Regions from separate parts of the Homo sapiens genome. Here region 1 is linked to region 2. The links are contacts of gene promoters, found by promoter capture Hi-C in human tissues and cell types (Jung and others, 2019). All regions are on one chromosome and are shown on one strand. Each heading gives the region's core, a stretch centred on a gene start or on the middle of the fragment in contact. The rest is flanking DNA. Distances are from core to core; before and after follow the strand shown. Region 1 overlaps USP3 (ubiquitin specific peptidase 3). Region 2 holds the start of OAZ2 (ornithine decarboxylase antizyme 2).

Evidence for each region. The method cuts DNA at HindIII sites, captures the fragments that hold promoters and counts their contacts. A contact is called where the count stands out against the background at its distance.
Region 1: a fragment that was not itself captured here is called in contact with the fragment with the promoter of OAZ2 in region 2 in 1 of the 25 tissues and cell types used here (aorta).

Annotation. Positions count from the first base shown.
Region 1 is chr15:63,506,743-63,510,727 of GRCh38, forward strand. All of the region lies in intron 1 of USP3 (ubiquitin specific peptidase 3), which reads left to right. Among named protein-coding and RNA genes, the nearest start is that of USP3, 4.1 kb to the left of the region's middle. The HindIII fragment of the contact is 3,184 bases long and covers 1,039-3,985 here.
Region 2 is chr15:64,701,412-64,704,969 of GRCh38, forward strand. OAZ2 (ornithine decarboxylase antizyme 2) reads right to left here and starts at 1,870. Exons shown (of 5, transcript NM_002537.3): 1 at 1,618-1,870. The coding sequence starts at 1,637. It overlaps LOC124903507 (a long non-coding RNA gene), which reads left to right and starts at 3,132. Exons shown (of 3, transcript XR_007064679.1): 1 at 3,132-3,221. RefSeq lists silencers at 1,456-1,675, 1,686-2,005. The HindIII fragment of the contact is 8,869 bases long and covers 1-3,558 here.

The DNA.
Region 1 (3,985 bases), core at 1,381-3,880, 1.2 Mb before region 2:
TCTGTTCAAGGGGTAGGATGACATCTTTGCATCTTGCAACAAAGTGTGTCTGACATATAGCTTTGCAAGCCTGGGTCTAGTCACTTACTTGGATTTGTAGAACCAATAAAGCGAGTTTCGCAACTTTGTGTGAGTCCACACTCTGAATTGAACCCATTTTATGTAGGCCTCCCGTCTTAACCCGTTGGCATCCATTTGTTGATATAATCTAGCGTTATTGTATTAAGCTTGATCTTGTTCTTGCGTGCCTGTCGTTTCAGTGATTAAATGATGAATCTGTGAGTCCTTAACTAACTCATTATCTTGGAGTGTTATATAGTCGTATTTTTTTTCTCCCACACTCTTGATTTTATTTTATTTTTGTTTTTTTCATAGGGGACCAAAAGGGTAGCCGATGTGTTGACTAATACTGTGACTGGGTATTGAATCTGATTATGTTCTTATTAAGGAGGGGAAAATCCCTGTTTTGGCACTGGGACAATAAAAGTAATGCCCTTGCCTTATTTTCTTTGCGAGTTTGCAATTATACCACGGTAAGACAGCCAAGCAAATTGCAAAATGCCACAACATTCTAGGTTCTACCAGTTAGCAGTACCTAATTGGACAAATAGTTCTATTTTCTTTGAGTATCAGTTTCCTTATATAATCTGCAAAGAAAAGGGTAATACTTTGCATTTACTTCACAGGTTGCTGTTAGGATGAACAAGGTAATTTTTTGTGAAAACTTTGAGAAACTTGTATACACTGTTCTAGTAATAGGTGGTATTAGAGGTCAGAACATCTTTGTAAAGAGGACTCTGAATAATTAAATATCCAAAGCCCATTAAATGGGGACTAGAACAGACTGGCTTTATGCTGAATGATGCTTTACAGGGAGATACAGAACTCAACAAGATTACAAGAAGTAAGAAGTAATTATACTTCAGAATTAGCATGAGCTTCTTATCCATGGAAGGCACTGTGTGTTGGGTTATATAATTGTGTATGACAGTGGTTCTTACACTTTTTGATCTTAGGACCCCTTTACACTCTTAAAAATTGTTGAGCACCTGAAGAGCCTTCGTGTAGCTTATATCTGTTGATGATGTTTATTAGAAATTAAAACTGAGAAAAACTTAAAATATGTATTTATTAATATGCTTACAAATAATAATAGACCCACACCCATAACATAAATTGACAGTTTATGTAAAATGTTTTTCAAAACAAAAATTTAGTGGGAAGAATGGCATTATTTTGCCTTTTTGTAACTCTTTGTTCAGCTTTATAGAAGACAGCTGGATTCTTACATTGCTTCTGCATTCAGTCTCTTGAGATGTCACATCATGCAGCCTCAGGAACACCCCACTGCATGCTTGTGAGAGAATGACTGTAAACAAAAGTAACATCTTAAATATTATGTATGAAAATTGTTTTGACCTTCTGGATCCCCTGAATGGGTCCTGGAAACTTTCAGGGGTCCAGGACCACACTTTGAGAACCCACTTGTGTAAGCTATAGTTAACAGTTAAGGATACCTGCTCATATCAAAATAACTTTAAAAAATTAGAGAAATCCTTAAGGCTACCAACGTTTATGTTTCTGTAGAGACCTGAGGTTTTTGAAATGTATTAGCTGGGAAATAGAGCATGGGCTCTAGTAGTCCTTTGCTGCCAAAAAAGTTAACAGTCTAATCTAGCTGGGGGAGAGACAGGAAGCTAACTAGTTAGAAGATACATCCATGTGGTTTAAGGTAAATGTTGAAAATAGCTATCTCCTAATAACGTAAAGGCTGATTTATGTCTAATTGTTGCTTAAGGGATTCTAGTTTAAAATGAAAAAGTTTTAAATAAAAGGGCATTCTCTCAAGCTTTTTGTTATGTGCACATACCAGATGTTATTTTCAGAAGTTGGAGGCTTGGGCATTCCTTATTTTTGTGGGTAAAAGAGTTTAACCAGTGGGAAAAAACAAAAATTGTTTAAAAAGATGCCCTGAATGCAAGTGTTTTGATAACTAAGGAAAGCCAAGGACCAAGCATTTGAACTTGAGGGTTTGGGTTAAACAGCCAGTTAAATTAGAGATATTTAGTAGGATAGGCATGCTAATTTTTCCCTGATTAATTCTTCAATGAGTTGAGAGTGCCTCTTTAAGTTTTCAGTACACACTTGCCTTCATATTACTCTACCCAAGAAAAGTAAGTGTAGATCAAGTAAATGTTCTGCAATTTTGCACCAAAAACTGCAGATAATTCCACCCAAAATACTGGAGATAAACCCTTTTTTAAGAGATCCATTCAGTAGGATGAGGTGTTGATTATTGGTTGTCAGTGGTAATAAATTTGTAATGGACTGATCAGGTTGTGATAAAGAGAAGAAATCAACCTTGATGGAGTGATGGGTTATTTTGTATCGTATTTCTCCACAACCTACATTTAACACTCGTTTGCCCAGTGGACTAAATTTTCTAAATACAATCAGTCATTTCCTTGTCATTAGGTCAAATGCTTTTACTGCTTTTTAGTAACATTCTATGATGTCTTTATTAAGTGCCTAATACTTAATAGAGCAATTAGTAAATATTTGCCTGATAAATAAAGGAACTATCACTTAGATGTGTCTGGCAGGGTCTTTATGTTGAAAATAAACGCAGAGTGAACTTTCCCCAGAATGCTTTCACTAGCCCGCACTCCCAGTATTTTAGTCAGTAAACGTTGGCTGGATTGTGAGCAAATGACCATCTGCAGTGTTGTTATCACAATGAATTTGTGTTCTTTTGGCAGTCTGTATTTATAGATGGGCAGGTGGACAATTTAGTTGTAAATGTGGATGGGGTAGTTAAAAATCAGTGGACAGGTGATACTTTTTTCACATTAATTCTAAAAAGTAGTATTTGAGTTTTATATATCCTTCTGAAGAATTTAAACTTTTTTGGTAATATTTATAAAGCTTAAGTCAAATGTCTTTCTAGTCTTTCTGCAGTATTCCTCCCCAACCCCGTCCCCCAGAATCTTAGAGCAATCTCAGCTTATTTCTAGAGTCTCTAAATGATTGCTCATGGATGTGAAATGTGTGAAATTTAGAATGTGCTCCATGTATGTGTTTTGTTTAAAGAAGCTTCAGTATAGAGATTGAGCCTAACATTTACTTGTTGTGAAGAAGTTTTGACACATTGATGAGAAGTTCTTTCCCTAATAATATGCTTAATAGTGTATACAGAACATCCTTCATGGTCTAAGCAGAAGAAATGATGGAGTTGGGGGAAGAATTCGAACTCTTTGGTGTGGTTTCCTGTTATTTATCCTCAAAATAATTTATTCTCATTCTTTGCTTGTACACCATTAGCCTTAGGCTCGTGTAACAGCCTCCTTTTTCCTCATTGAAATGTATGTAATTTCCTTCTCCACTGGAATATAAAAGATTGATTTTGGATCCTTCAAGCTAGATTTAGAAATACTTATGTTTTTATAGTGTTTGCAGCTCAGTGAGTAGACCAGTGAGTAATTTAGTGTGTAGCTCAGTGAGTCATTTAAATTCCTGTTTTAAAATTTGAGTCCCTCTTCCATCAGGAGCTGATTAACATGTACATTTCCCCTAACCTAACCTGCTCGTTTTTTTTCTTTTTGAGCTTTTCTCCCCTTCTTGAGCTTGTTTGTTTGTTTTTAATATTTTTCCTTCTTTGAAAACAAAATGTTAGTCTCCTTTGATTAAGCTGCAGTCTCTGACCTACATACATACAGGTTTGTGTTCAACCAAGGCATTGAAATAAATAGATTTAGTCGGTAGATTATCATTGTTTGAAGTGGAAAAGGTATGCTGTTTAACATATTTTGATATTTTATGTTTATTCATTGCCTCTTTAGACAGGAGAGCAATTGCATTCTAGGTGTGTTAATAGAGCTTTCCTGGACAGATGGCTTGGAAGGAAGTACTTTGATGGGTTCTCAGTAGGGGCTAGTACTTTTTGGAGGGTGTGTTTGTGATTAAGCTTACCTTGATTGACAGTTTA
Region 2 (3,558 bases), core at 620-3,119:
GGCTGGTGCTGTTAACAAGTGGGAAAGGAAAGTTGAGAGACTATTTCAGTAAGAAGAGTGCCCAAGTTTGAGAGGAATCCTGAGTGGCAGTTAGAGGGCTCTATGCAAAGAAAAGCAATAAAGAAGGCAATGCATTTGAGAGGAACTAGTCTAATTCTGAATAGAACATGGCCCAATTTAAGGAAGATTTACAGGGAATGGATCTGCTTGCAAAATAATGAGGCCCAAGTGAGAGGCAGAGGCCATAAGGCCAAATCTGGGGACAAAAGGTCTGGTGTGGGGAACTAATGAGCTTCAGACACGGTTTGGACAGGACAGCAACAAGTTTGGGGAAAAAATGAGGAAGAGAATTAGGTCCAAATTGTAAATGAAAGCCATTCTGATGTATAAGGAGCAACTAGGATTAAAAATTCCGGGGAATTAGGAAATTGTGGAACAGTTTCAGAGAACAGAGGCAGAAATATGGGATATATTAAAATTTGAGGGAGAGATAGGTGAGAAGGGTTGTCTTGGAGAAAGAGAGGCATGTAGAGAAAGGAAAATTGAGGAACTATCTGCAGGGGGAAGGATATACCATGCAAGTTTGGAAAACCAGGGTGCTCGGTCTGAGAAAGATGTGCAGCCTTTCTCTAATTAATGGGGGAAGACTAGGGTCGGGTTTTGAGGGAGGAAATTGCAAAGATCTAGTGTCCAGAATATAGAGCTTGGTTTGAAGGCACTGGAGGTACAGGGGGAAGGTTCACTGGAAGCGAGATGGCTGGGTCCTGTGATCTAATGATCCAAAGACGGGATTCAGTTAAGAGGGGAAGGAGAAGGATGAGTTCCAGCTGAGAAAAGATGTTTAGAGGGTAAGAATGTTTCCAAGAGTGTTGGGGGTATACCATTGGGGCAACAGGATGGAGCACAAGAATCAAACCTGGTGTTTGATAAATAAAAGGAATGGCGCTGGGAGACTGGGAAAATGGGGCCTAACTGGGAGAGGGGTGTGGAGAGGGGAAGGTGGGGGAAAGATGAAGCTGAAGTATGGGACCAGGAGGAAGAGGCTGGACATCTGTGTAAGGACTGCTAGGCCTGAAGAGAATGGGGGGAGGGTGATGAGTGGGGGTAAACTGAGAACTGAAGGATGGAGGTTGACTTTGCGGGGGGCAGTGATATGAGAAGAGTCTGGGTGGGGGGTGCAGTTTTCATCAGGGAGGGAATTCAAAGGGAAGGGTGAAGTGACTTATAAGGGGAGTAAGAAAGATTTGAGGAAGACAGGAAACAATTTGGGGAATCTGGATGCCGGGGAAAGCCCAGTTTGGGGAATGGGGCACAATTCGGTGGGGCTGAAAGAAAAAAGGGGACTTGCTTGGAAGGTTGGGTTCCGGCTTTTGGGGGCTTTAGGGGAGGAGAAGGCCCGGATGAGGGGGATGGGCCCGGCTGAAGAGGGGGCTAAAGGACAGAAGAAGGCCCAGTTGCAGGGCTGAGGACCGGACTAGGGTGGCTGAAGTGGTGAACGGACCTGGCTGGGGGCGGATGGCCCCGCTGCGGGGGGCGGGGGCCGGCTAGGGGTACGTGAGAGGCCCTCTGGAGCAGATGAGGGAGGATGGGGGCGGGGAGCCTGGGCCGGGCCGTTACCTGTCCTGGGTGTTTATCATCCTCGGCGGCTCTGCTCAGGGTGGGAGGAGGCGGCGCAGGGAGTGGATAGATGGATGAGTGGGTGGGTGTGGGGTCACGCGCGCGGGGTCGATCTCTGCGGGCTAAGTCCCTGTCAGGCCGCGGGCCGAGCGCCTCCTTTTGCCTCAGCGAGCGCCTGCCTCCAACTGACCCTCCCCGGCCGCCACCGCCGCCGCCGCCGCCGCCGCCCCGCCCCCGAGTGCCTCATCTGCATAGCCCCACCCCAGCGCCGCGCGGTGTCCTGGGAAACTGGGGCCCACAACAAAGGGCAAAGCACCGCCCCGCCTCCGCGCAGGCGCACCACGGACCGATCGTGGGGGTAGGGCTAGGGGGTCCGAACGAAGGGCAGGCTGTGCAGGAGGCCATGACCAAGGCGGTGGGTCTGCCCGCAGCTGCGGCAGCGCGGCCCAGAAGATGCGTTGTGTTTCCGGTAGTTTTCTGTGAGGATTGACTCAACCTGGTCCTCATCCCTATTCCTTGTTGGCGTGGGGCCGAACAGGGCTGTGCCATTTGGGAGGATATTAAAACAAAATCAGAAATCTTAAGAGAACTACACACATATTAGCACCATTCCTAGTCTGAGTCCAGGCCCACAGATCTGTTATCTCAGCTCATAATGCAGATCAATAACCTCAGCTGTCAGGGTAGATCAACAATCTCAGCATCTCGCACACATCTCATGTCAATCGTCAAGGCTGCTCCAAGCACTGGCTTAGGTCATCTGAAGCCAGAACTCTGTAGATCATGAGCACAGTCACAACAAGACAGTCGTGGAAAGCGTCGTCACTAACTTGTTCACGGTCACTTCAGATCACAATCAGTGCAAGTTACTTCAATCGATCATGCAAGGTTACTAGTTCAGTCACCTCCATTCATTATCCCTACTGGTCCTTATGACAGATTAGTGCCTGAAGGCCACAGTCACCGGTGCGCAGACCCCTCAGATCACAGTCCTTGTAGGTTACAATCACAGACACTTCAACACAATCATCAAAAGCCCCGACTCTGTTCACAGTCAACCCAGATTGCAATCAAGAGAGGTCACATTATCTCAGATCACAGTGGGTCACTCTGTCACCTCAGATTACATCCATTCAGTTATTCAACAAATAATTATTTTATTTATTTACTTATTTTTGAGATGGAGTCTCTCTCTGTGGCCCAGGCTGGAGTGCAGTGGCACAATCTCAGCTCACTGCAACCTCCACCTCCCGGGTTCAAGCGATTCTCCTGCCTCAGCCTCCTGAGTAGCTGGGATTACAGACATGTACCACCATGCCCGGCTAATTTTTGTATTTTTAGTAGAGACGAGGTTTCACCATGTTGCCCAAGCTGGTCTTGAACTCCTGACTTCAGGTGATCCACCTGCCTCGGCCTCCAAAAGTACTGGGATTACAGGCATGAGCCACCGCACCCGGCCAACAAATAATTATTGAATAGCTACTTACTGTATGCTCCAGGCATGTGCTAGAGTCCAAGAATACGCCATAATCAACCAGGCAAGGTTCCTGCCTTGGATGTCACAATCCGGTCAAGGGGAGAGACACAGGTCATCACAATACCAGGTAAGTAAGTGCTCAATCTGAGGAATGCCACAGAGAAAGTAATTTAGGGAATTAGGGACAGCTTTGCAGAAAGAGTGATAACTCAGAGAAAGGGTGACACTCCAGATCGGCGGTCACTATGACTTTCAGTTCACAAACATCTCACATTGGAGTCATCTCAGGATATGGTTACTCTCCTTCACAAACAGCATGCTTTTGGGTTTTGGATGATGGGGATGGAGGCACAGAAGGAAGGCTGGAGCTACCAAGCTAAGGCTTTTTCAACACAAATTAAAGTGGTAAATGATACCGAAACTGCCCGGATTATCACTAGATATTCAGGCAAGGCTGGTCTCAT